2 separate regions of the Homo sapiens genome follow, and region 2 is linked to region 1. The links are contacts of gene promoters, found by promoter capture Hi-C in human tissues and cell types (Jung and others, 2019). All regions are on one chromosome and are shown on one strand. The core of a region is centred on a gene start or on the middle of the fragment in contact, and the rest is flanking DNA. Distances in the headings are between cores, read along the strand shown.

The links. Contacts are between HindIII fragments. The study calls those that stand out against the background at their distance.
Region 2: a fragment that was not itself captured here is called in contact with the fragment with the promoter of RGMA in region 1 in 2 of the 25 tissues and cell types used here (H1 embryonic stem cells and dorsolateral prefrontal cortex).

Annotation. Positions count from the first base shown.
Region 1 is chr15:93,085,861-93,091,579 of GRCh38, forward strand. RGMA (repulsive guidance molecule BMP co-receptor a) reads right to left here and starts at 3,351. Exons shown (of 4, transcript NM_020211.3): 1 at 3,059-3,351. The coding sequence starts at 3,072. It overlaps LOC101927025 (a long non-coding RNA gene), which reads left to right and starts at 3,354. Exons shown (of 5, transcript XR_007064769.1): 1 at 3,354-3,417. The HindIII fragment of the contact is 13,871 bases long and covers 1-5,719 here.
Region 2 is chr15:93,599,554-93,605,272 of GRCh38, forward strand. All of the region lies in intron 5 of LOC107983974 (a long non-coding RNA gene), which reads left to right. Among named protein-coding and RNA genes, the nearest start is that of LINC02207, 250 kb to the right of the region's middle. The HindIII fragment of the contact is 6,387 bases long and covers 1-5,719 here.

The DNA of each region.
Region 1 (5,719 bases), core at 2,101-4,600:
TTTCAATAGAGTTCATTTGTTCATCTGTCACCAAGGAAACTGACTTCTGCCTGGCCTTGTATGCATACTTGGGTAAGGCAATCCTTAATTTTTTCCACTGCCCTATTCATTGCTCCTTTATAGCTCTGTTGCTAAGAGAAGAGAGGCTGAAACTGAGCAGTCATTTGCTCAAAATAAGAAAAAGAGGAGCCTGTCTTTTGGATAGGCTGGATACCAAACAGGTGGGGAAACCTGGAGCTTCCCTTCTTCAGGTTAAATTTATGTTCAGTTAAGTTTGTGGAATGGCTACATAATGGAAGCAAAGCCATTCCCTAAAAGAGCCACAGGAACACCACAGACACTTAAAAGTTAACTAAACTTACCTTTGGGATGTTATAAGTCAAGTTCTAGAATAATTACCTGTAAGGAGTAGTGTCATTTCGTTTCACAGAACTAACAGATTCCAATTTGCCTGCGCTGCTTTCAGATAATCCTTCTATGTTTTTGCTCAATTGCACTTGGATACTTCCTGCCTCTTTCCCTGGATGGCAGGCTTCTTGATGGATCGGTGACCGTGCCTTCTTTCATGTCTATACTGCATGCTTCAAGGCAGGAACAAATTTTGCAACCATACTTGGTAAAAACAAGCGCTAGAACTTAATTCATTTGGTAGCAAGGTTGTAGGGGGAAAAACGCACTTTAGACTCACAGAACACTGGCCATATCCCTTCTGCTTTCTGGCCATCAGTTTCTTCTGAGAAACTGAAAATACCAGCACCCATTCCTGCCTGCTTCCTGGGAGCAGCAAGCATCCCTGGAAGAATGGCTGAAAAACTCCCTGTCCCAGTGTCAGGGATGCTCAGTCCCTATTTATTTCATTTTGCAACTGCTCGTCTAAGAATTCTTGGGCTTGGCTTCTCACAGGGCTGCTGAAGAGCAAGGGATTGTATTAAAAAGGAGATTCTTGTGCCTTTATTGTCTATTATTACATACACTGGGAAGCAGCAAGTTATTCCTTGGAGGAGGTTTGTAAAAAGAGAAAGCAGGCAGAGGTTTCTTAGCAAAAGTCAAAGGTGCCCTCCTTGAATGAGATGCCAAGCTATTCTAAGACCTCGTCTGTCACAAGTCTCATGATGACATAAATACCTACCAATGGAGACACAGTTTGAGACAGCATGACGGGGCAGACCAGCCACCCACCATTTCATATGTCTATTGGAGAATGTAAGCAACTGTCTGACACCTGGGAGGGAAATAATGGAAGCAGGGTACTTGAAAAAAGGAGGCTAAGACCTCTTTCACTACCAGCACAGCCCAGAGAGTCTCAAGGGGGTACTACAGTAGACCACTACACTGCTCTACAAGGGGCCAGGGTGCCCTTCAGAACCGGGTGAGCCCAGCTCACTGCTAATATATTATCTGGCCTGGAAGGTGGCAGCAAAAACCAGCCACAGAGAACGTGGAGCCCGCCTGGATGTGTGGGTGCCCCACCCAGAGCCTTTGTCTGCAGAACTTGCCATCCAGCCACGTCTGCCCCAGTTGTTAATTGGAGATCATGTCCCTGTAAAGGGGGCTTGCTTGTCACTTGCTGTGGTAACAGCAAGAAACCCCTTCTTTGTATGTGCAAAAAAAAAAAAAAAAAAAACCACAAAACCCAGTTTGGGTACACTATTCTGTTCCTGCACAAATGGGCAGGAGGCCCTCTCCCAGTTCTCCTCCTGTTGCCCTTCGGAGCACAGTTACTCTCTTTTCTAGGGGTCATGGCTCAAAATCCACCCAAGAAATCACCCGTTTGTGATGCACAGGAGAAGACAGAGGTTTGTGCATTGGTTTTCAAGATCTCTGCACCAGATACCTGCGGAAGGGGCATCTTCTTACAGCAGTTAACATTTTATATTACGTTTTTGCTGGAAGAGTCTAAAACCAAACAGAGAAGGTGATGGAGCTCCTTTAGGTGACAGCATGCCACTCAACACGACCCGCAATTTCGTCCCCTGAGCTCAATGTGCTGAGCATGGGAGGTCGGGGTTCTCCCTGGTACCGTCGATACTCAGAGAGCTTCTGTAGCCTCCTTCCTGGAGGCGAGGGCTGGTTCCCGCCTCTCCACCTTGTGCGGGAGACTACTTTGAGAACACCCAACAACTTCGCAGCCTAAGAGGAATGCACAGCTCACCACTTCCGCTAGATGGCGCTACTTCCCCTACTCCGCCCGCGAGACACCCAATTTATAAAATAAATACAACCCAACACCTCCCAAAACCACACCACATAATAGCAGCTCACAGGCTCCCATTAGAAATCTCAATTTGGGAGAACTGATTCTACCTCCGAGCAAGTCTAATACAATTACATTAATAAGACGCAATCCCGAATTGCACCCGAGCGTCCCCCACACCCGCCCTCCCATTGAATACACCTGTCCCCCATGCCCGGGCTTGTACCCTGGGTTGAGCTGCGGCGCGAGCCGGCGCTGAATCGTCGCCGTGCCCTCCCGTCCACTTAGGAAAGCCGGGGCGGCTTGGCAATGGGCATCCTCGGCCCTCAATCCAAGGTCCGCACCTTCCCGTACGCCGGCGCGCCGAGGCAAAGGGCCGCCGGGACGCGAGCCCACGCGGTGCACTGCGCCGACATCCCCGAGGGCAGGAGATGGCCAGGCAGCTCCGCAGCCGGGCGTCGAGCGGGAGGCGGGGGCCCGGGCGGCGCGGGCCAATGGGGGTTCACGGCGGGACAGTCGGGTGGCCGGCTCCGTCCGGGGCTCCGCGAGCCGGGCTGAGGGAAGGAGCTCCCAGCCCGCACACGGTGTAAGGGACGTGTGCCGGGTCTGCCCAACCACGCGCGCTGGCGGCTGCCCGGGGGAGAGTATTTTAGGAAAAAAGAACAAACACCAAACCACAAAAACTTTCCTGCTGCCAACAGCTAAAGCGATAGAGGCGCAGCAAAGCTCCAAATGTGGGCAAGATGGGAGCAAGATGAGACGCGGGGCTAAGGAAGACCAAAGCAGCGCCGTGGCCCCGGCATGTGTCGGCGGCGCCTCGGAGATGTCAGAGCCGGGTCTGCCCGGCTCCCGACCCGCGCTTACCTTGGCGGCTGCATGAGCCCCTGCGGCCCGCGGGGGGTGGCGCTGGCGGGGCTGCGGGAGAAGAGGGGGTGTCGGGGCGCCGCTCGTCTGCCCCGGGGCAAGGTGGGAGGGGCTCCGCTGGCGCTGGTCCCCGCCGCCCCGGCCGGCTCAGCAGCGGCCCGGGGAGCGCCTCCTGCTCCCGGGCTGCATGCCTGCGAGCGCCTGGCGGAGCCGGCCCGGGAGCGAACGGCCAGTGCTTCCCCGGCCCAGCGGCTCGGGCGGCGCAGCCAGCGCTCGGGAGACAACTGCAGAGTGGGGCGGCCGGGACCAGCCCCCTCCCTCGCCCGGCCCCCGCCCGCCGCCGAGCGCGGCGTCGCGAGGTTCGTTTGCGCGCCGAGGGGAGGGGGCGGGCCGGGCGCCCGGGCCGCGGGCGGGGGGCGCGCGCGGGCGGGGCCGGCAGGGAGGGGCGGGGAGGAGCGGGGTGCGGGCTCGCGTTGCCCCGCCCCGCCGCGGCCCCACCCTCCCGCATCAGCACCGGCTGGGTGGGTGCGGAGTGCGCCAGCGGCCAAGTCAAGACTCCTTGAATGCTCAGGTTAGGGGGCGCGGGCGGCAAGTGCGGCGACTCCCCGGGGCGCCTCCAACTTTCCGAATCGCCCGCAGGGTTGCGGTGGAGCGCACGGTGTCCTTCAGTTAGGCGGTGGTCGAGGGGAGTTCCTCTGAGATTTCTGGAGAAGGCGGTTACATCCAAGACAAATGCTGTTGCGCTCTGCGGAGACGCACCTTTGTTCTATAGAGATTTTGTTGTTGTTTAAGAATCTTCCTGAAAAAACTAATACATATGTATTACATGCTAACACACGCATACATTCTTGCGTAGAATTGTACATAACTCAGGAGTGTCTAGAGTGAAAAGACCGTATCGCACTCCCTCCCACGGCCGCGGCTCTCCCACGGCCGCGGCTCCCCCGCGGTAACCTTCGGTCAGGGTGTGCTCTGCCGCGGTTCTTTCCAGTCTCTGCGCTTTTACATGCACACGCACAGATTGCGAGTGGAATCTCCTGGGCTTTTCAAAAGAATGTTTTCAACATTAAGCGCATGCACACAGTGGCTTGAACACGGCCACGTCGGGAGCAGTAAATCCCCAGAGGCTCCGGGAGCCCAGGGAAGGACCCTTGCTGTGAAACAGCAAAGAGCCACCCAATCGCCATGTGTGGATCTGAAACCCCAGCTGGAGCGTGAAGTCGGTCTGGTTACACAGCTCAGGCCCAAATTAGCACTGCACGGTTAGAGAGATTTGCCAGTACATTCTAGACAGGGTTATGACCTTCCCCTTCTTACAGAACAAACTGTCTTGAATTTTGATATGATGAGAACTCTGGATTTGCAAAATGAAAAGGTATCGTCCGCATTAAAACACGATCGTTATTTATGCGTGTGGTCTTCAGAGATGTGGTTTTAACTCAATATTCTCCGTTTTATTTGTCAAGTGTATTTGTATAATCTATAGCTGGGATATAAATAAAATTAAGTGGTTTAGCAGGAAGGGATTGGGGATGGGTTTCTAGAATTAGCTCTGACCTTCGGCAAGTCATCTAGCTCTGCTGGGCCTCAGTTTCCTCATCTATGAATAGTAGGGTGTGTGTGTGTGTGTGTGTGTGTGTGTGTGTGTGTGTGTGTGTGGTCTTCCTGCCCTGACATTCTGTGCCCTGACATTCAGTGAATAACCAATTTCTTCATCTTTCATAGCTCAGCTCCAACATCTTCCCCACCCTCTAGGGAGTCCTCACATCCGTGCCTTTCCTTCCTAACACTGAGCTCACTCGGTAATTAGGCGCTCATTAGAGTGACCTTTCCCTACATGTTGGCCTCTCCCACCGTACCATAAGCATCATGAGGGCAGGAACCAGGACTCCTTGGAGTCATCATTGCATTCCTAGCACTTAATATGGTGCCTGGCACACTACAAGAATCTCTGAATGACTGTCACGCAGATAGTAGATTTCTTACTGTTCTTCCAAATTGCCTGGCATTTTTAAAAGGTCTGTAAGTGGAAACGTGTCTTTTTAAAATGAGGCCTTTGGAAAGTAACCAGCAGGGTTTTCCCATGGTGGGGGACAAACAATCCACTGTCTAGATAAGGACAGACAATTCTCAGCTCAATCAAGGGCCGTGGAGGTAGCCGGTAACTATTTACCTTGATGAGTGCAGGCACCCGTGGAGAAGACAACGAATATTAATGCTACTCGTTAAGTACTTGGTTAAGTTAGAACCCTGCATAGGCAGTTGGAATACACAGAGTGCTCAGATTTAAATGAAGCCGTGAAGTGTGTTTAGGGTGCAAATTAAGAAATGGACATGCTTTCAACCAACAATCTAGAAACATTCCTAATATAAAGCTCCAGGGTATCCTTGGCTTTCTTTACTGCAAAGGGCCTGGATTCCTTAATATGAACAGGAAACAGGCTAACCTAGGTACAAGAGTTTAAAAAAAAGAAAAAAGGCCATTAAGAAACAAGGGGCGGGGTAAGTGAAAGTCTAAGTCAGTACAAGACTAATATCTATATTAGTTTCTTTTTTGTCTGATATGTAGATTTGCCGAGGGAGAGGTTAAAATCCGGCGTCACATTTATAGAGGAAAACTGGGGTTTCCACCCCTTCTTGGCCACTCTTCCTTTTCTTCCC
Region 2 (5,719 bases), core at 1,836-4,335, 510 kb after region 1:
AAAAGAGAAGGGCATGATATCTTTTGAAGCCTTGTCGACTAGATGAAAAAATACAAGAAAGATCAATGAGTTGTAGGTATTTTTAGATGGCTGTTGAGTGGCCCCAGCTAAGTCAGTTAATTGATTAATGTCTACCTGAAGAGGATTCTAGTAGTGTGCTTCAGGGATTTGACCTTTGTCCTATCCTGATAGTTCAGTATTATTTTATTAATGACATGGTGAAATATAAAGGCATATTCATATTTATAAATGTTCAAAAGCTAGGAGGGGGGACTGTGCCTATGTTGTATGTGAGAATCTGGTTCTAAATAAACATCAAAAAGATTAGAGAGACTAATGTAATAGAAATTAATAGGAATAAGTATGCGGTTCTAAAATTTTCCTCCAAATATCACAGGATTAGCACTAGTTAATGTTGAGCATTTTAGTTCGCAGTAAGTAAACTTAATAATTTGTCAGCCACATTACACTTATTAATATTATTGCCAAAAGTTGCATGTAGAGGAATACGTTAGAAAAAGGGAGGTAAGATCTTGCTCTTCCCTGTTCTGGTCAAACTTTACCAAGACAACTTAGTTCCAGTCTGAGTATCAAGCTTTAAGAGATAAAATGATGCATTCTGGAATCCACTACCCAAAATTCAGCCTCCGCAGTGAAACAGAGTACATTCATGGCATTATCAGAGCAGTGAAAATGCTCACAAGCTACGTCACCTAAGGACTCATTTAAGGAACTTGTGATTTTCATCCTGTAAAAAAGGATGACTGGGAAGGAGACGAACATCCTCAAGTAAGGGATGTTGGGAGAATAAAAAAAAAAAAAGGAATCAGCTGCATTTTATGTGAATCTTCCAAAGGATAGGGTTAAGACCAGCGGGTGGAAGTTGCAGAACGACAGATTTCAGCTCAATGTGTGGAAAACATTCGAACAGAGCTTAGCCATTGGACACTTCATCTTTGGAAAAGGGTTGACTGATAAAGGAGATGTTTAAACCTAAGCCATATGGTTCGTTAAAACCACACGGTGGGCAACAGGAGAAGAGATCATAAAATGTTCCTATAACTCAAAATTGCTTAGCTGATTTGAGGAAGCTTCATGGGGGAGATAAAAATGGAGCTGTGCCAGGAAGGACGGACAGATAGGACTTAGTTCATGCATTTTCAACATGGTGACATTGCCCTAAGGGAATGAAATCGGTTCTTGGAGGGTGAAAAAATCTTGGCTATTCAAATTGTTTGTGACCCTCCTCAGAGCCACAGTACATAGACAGACATACAGTATATCTTTGATATTAATATTTCATGCTGGAAGGAGAGTGGTTAGGGAAATGCTCTAAAAAGTTTCCTTGGCCAGGGACGGTGGCTCACATCTGTAATCCCAGCACTTTGGGAGGCTGAGAAGGTCGGATCACTTGAGGTCAGGAGTTCGAGACCAGCCTGGCCAACATGGTAAAACCCTGTCTCTACTAAAAATACAAAAACTAGCTGGTTGTGGTGGTGGGCACCGTAATCCCAGCTACTGGGGAGGCTGAGGCAGGAGAATTGCTTGTACCTGGGAGATGGAGGTTGCAGTGAGCTGAGATGGCACCACTGCACTCCAGTCTGGGTGACAGTGTGAGACTCTGTCTCAAAAAAAAAAAAATTTTTTTTTCCATTAAGGAGGCACAGTGAAAAAAATGGTATATATATGTTTTCTTTTCTTTTCTTTTTCTTTTTTTTTTTTTTTTTGAGATAGGGTCTTGCTTTGTCCCCATCCACAGCATGGAGTGCAGTGACTCAATCACAGCTCATGGCAGCCTTGAACTCCTAGACTCAAGTGATTATCCTACCTCAGCCTCCCCAATAGCTAGGACTACAGGGCATTGTTGCATAAAAAATTGCCACAAACTTTGTGACTTGAAGCAACACACATTTATTATCTTATGGTTCTGGAGGGTCAGAAGCCCAAATGAGTTGGCAGAGCTGCAGGCCTTCTGGAGGTTTTAAGGGAGAATTCATTTCCTGGCCCTTTCCACCTTCTAGAAGCTGCCACAGTTCTTGGATCAGAACTTAGCATTATTCTAATTTCTGCTTCAGTCGTACATCTCCTGTTTCTCCGTTTCTTTAGAAAGCCCCTATAATTACATTAGTGCTACTAGTGTTACATTAGTGGATAATGCAGGATAATTTCTCCCATCTCAAAGTCTTACACAGGCAACATTCTTTTGCCATAACAGGTAACACAGTCACAGGTTCTGGGATGAGGATGTAGATATGTGGGGAGGGGGATGTGCATTCTTTTGCCTATCAGTTGGGAAATGCTGACCGATGATGCATCATTAGCCACGTGTTAGGAGGAACAAGGAAGGAAAGAGAACACAGATGGTTCTGTGCAATCATAACTGTGAAAAAGTGGCTCAGGACAGAGATAGATACAGAAGCATGCTAAGCCCAAGTATGGGCACCATTATTATAATTTGAACTGTTGTCGTTCACCACTGTTATCATTGTCATCGTTTAGACAGGGCTAATTTTTAAGTATCATTTGCACATGAAATCCAAAAGCCTCAGTCATTCCCTGTGGTAGTTTTGTAGGGCTGCCATAACAAATTAATACAGATTGGGGGCTTATAACAGAAACATATCCTGCCACGGTTCTGGAGGGCAGAAGTCAAAAATCATGGTGTCGGTAGGGCCATCTTCCCTTTGCAGCCTCTACAAGAGAATCCTTCCCTCTCTCTTCCAGCTTCTGAGGGCTTGTGGCTGCATAACTCTAAGTTCTGCCTCTACCCTCGCATGGCTTCCTTCTTTTCTCACTCTATGTTCACGTCTTCTTTTCTGTCTTTTACAAGGACGCTTCTTTTCTATCTTTTATAAGGACACTTCTTTTCTATCTTTTATTTATTCATTTATTTATTTTTCTATCTTTTATAAGGACATTTCTTTTCTGTCTTTCATAAGGACACATCACTGGATTCAGGGTTCATCTTATAATCCAGGATAATTACATCTACAAAGACCTGTTTTCCAAGTAAGGTTATATACACAGTTTCCAGGGTTAGCACGTGGACTTATCTTTCTGGGAGACACCATTCAACCCACTAAGTTCCTGAATCAGAGCTGCCTCAAGGGAAAGAAATGGTAATTTTATCCTTAAAGATAAACACCAATATGCTGGGCTTAACGATTAATCATTCTCTCAGTAGTGTTCCTAGGCGTTAGTGGGCTGCAGCTTATTTGGTGGGTAGGTCCAGGGGGCACTTAGGGATCTATACTACTTGCAGACTCCCTTGGTGGGGAGTAGAGTATGATGCTATTTCAAAGTGCTTGTCTTGATGCTTCTCTTTTCTCCCCTCACTTCCCTTCTCCCCTCCTTCACGCAGTAGCTGGGGTTGCACTTTTAAAGCACAGAGCTGAACACAGCATTTCTTCCTCAAAACAGTCACTGATTTTTTTCCTTATTTCTTCAGACTAAGTCCAGATTGCCAGCTGGGCATTTAACCCGTTTAATGAACCTGGTCTCATACTCATCTCAGTCTCGACCCTAAGCTCCAGTTCTTTCAGGCGTTTCCCTGCTCTCTGTGACCATCTGCTATTCCCCTGGGATCACGTCACTGCTTTTGGGGTTCCTTCATCCATCCTTCAGGAAGGCTCCTCCCCGCTAGCATGTATTCCTCCTTCCCAGTGCAAGCACATTGATTTCCCATTTTCTGTGCTTCTCAGACTTTAGAGTGAACAGGAATCACCTGCAGAGCATGTTGAAATGCAGATTCTGACTCGATCTGGGGTGGGCTGGAGACAATGCATGTCTAGGAAGCATCCAAATGATGCTGATGCTGTCCTTAGGGACCACACTTCAGTAGCAAAATTCTATAGCCCGCCACTGTCTGCCTTAACTGGTTAATTATGGGTATGTGTGGAGGGGAAGGTGTCTCTCTTCCTCTCCCCAACAGGCTCTGATCGCTCAGAGATGAAGAACAGTGGTTTGTTTGTCAAAGCTGATGAATGTGAGTGGAGGTAAATTACATTTGAGTAAAAATGGAGAGTAATTGCTGTAATTCGGCTTGGCTGTATCCCTTCTGCTGTTGCACGGTGGGCTCTGGAGAGGGACATCCAGTGCCCTTAGCTGGCTAAGGAGATGGCCATGACCACTGGTTTTCAAGAACCAAAAGCCTATCTGAAGTATCTTTATGCACCCAATCAACTCTCCTTCCAGCAAAAGTAATTGTTTAAGCAGATAACATCACCAGCAGATCCAGGCCACAGCAGCTATTCAGAGAGAAACATTTCCCATCATGTTTGTAGAATCAGGAGAAAGCATATTTTCTCCTAAAAACAGTGTCTATTGGGAGCATGTGGAATGAAATGGTAAAACTCTCATTTTGGGGTGGGCTGCCTTGTTCTGCTACTTTCCTTTAGAAGTAAACTGGAGAAAAGCTTAATAGAAACAAAATATTTCTATAGGCACCAGCAGACTACTAAGAAACAGAGGCCACTTGGTTTTTCCTATCCCTCTGCATGCTCGGTGGAAACATTAGACAAGTGAAAAAGATGAAACAGCTTTAAAAAGAGAGAAGACAAAGTGTAGTTTGGTAGAGAAATACCACCACACCCCAAGAATGAAGGGTACAGGGATTTCACCAACAGGAGCGGGGTAAGTATAGTAGGCTGACCAATTCATCTTGGCTGCCTGGAACTGTCCTGGTTTTAGTATTGAAAATTCCAGGTTCCAGAAAACCCCTCAGGTCTGGGCAAACTGGGAAGTTTGATCACTGTCCATATAGGGAGAGCCACCGTAAGGAAGGTTTTAAAGCAGTTCATTTGGCTCCTTCTTGTGTAAATTTCTTCAGCTGCATTCTTTCCTCCTGGTGGTCCCCATCTGCCTTCCCACCTCCCCAAAAAGAGACGACTTTGAATGCCCTTCTCCTGAATCTATCCCAAGTGTTTAACACTGAAGAACACTTGAAGCCTTTTGCCTTCCAGGAACGTTGTTGCTGTGAGCCCCTGAGGCTTCCTCCAGTCTCCATTCATTTTTACACGCTTGTCTTCATGTTTTCATTTGTAACAAAACAGCACATTTGCATACAATTTTGTTTTGCAGAATGTTTTCTGGTATTATCACATTTGCTAATCATTACAAATCCCTGTGGAATCTGTTGGGAAAGGTGTTGGTATGTCTAAGTTTCACTTAAAAACAATAGGCTGGGAAAGCTGCACAGGTGGCCGGCCTAAAGTGACACAGGTAATCAGAGATAGAGCTGAGCTCTCAAACTCAGGAGTCCTGACCCTAAACATAGGGCACATTGCACTGTCACCTTTTTAAAAATATTTTGTTTTTATCTGTACAATGGTGGTATTTTCATTCTCATGTTATCTCTATGTGAAAGTCAAGTTCTGAATTAGCCCATCACCAACTACTGAAAACTGCCACATCTCATCTCTGGTGGATGAAAGATGACTGGGCTTCCTAATTTTTTATTTTCATCTTCAGTAGCCTCAGAGCTCTCAGGCCAATTGGGAGAATTTCTTGTGTGTGATAACTCCAGTTTCAGGCCAGAGGCAGATGTCTGTCCCTGCAGCCAGGACCAGGTAGAAAGAAGAGCAAGGTCTAGCCCGAAGCCCACCCACTATGCCAGTTTAGATCCTGGGTAAAAGGATTCAGATACAGGGTCATCATAGCTTTCCAGTGAGGCTGGCAAAAGCCAGTGTTTAAGCAGAGGACCATACCCCACTGTAATTGT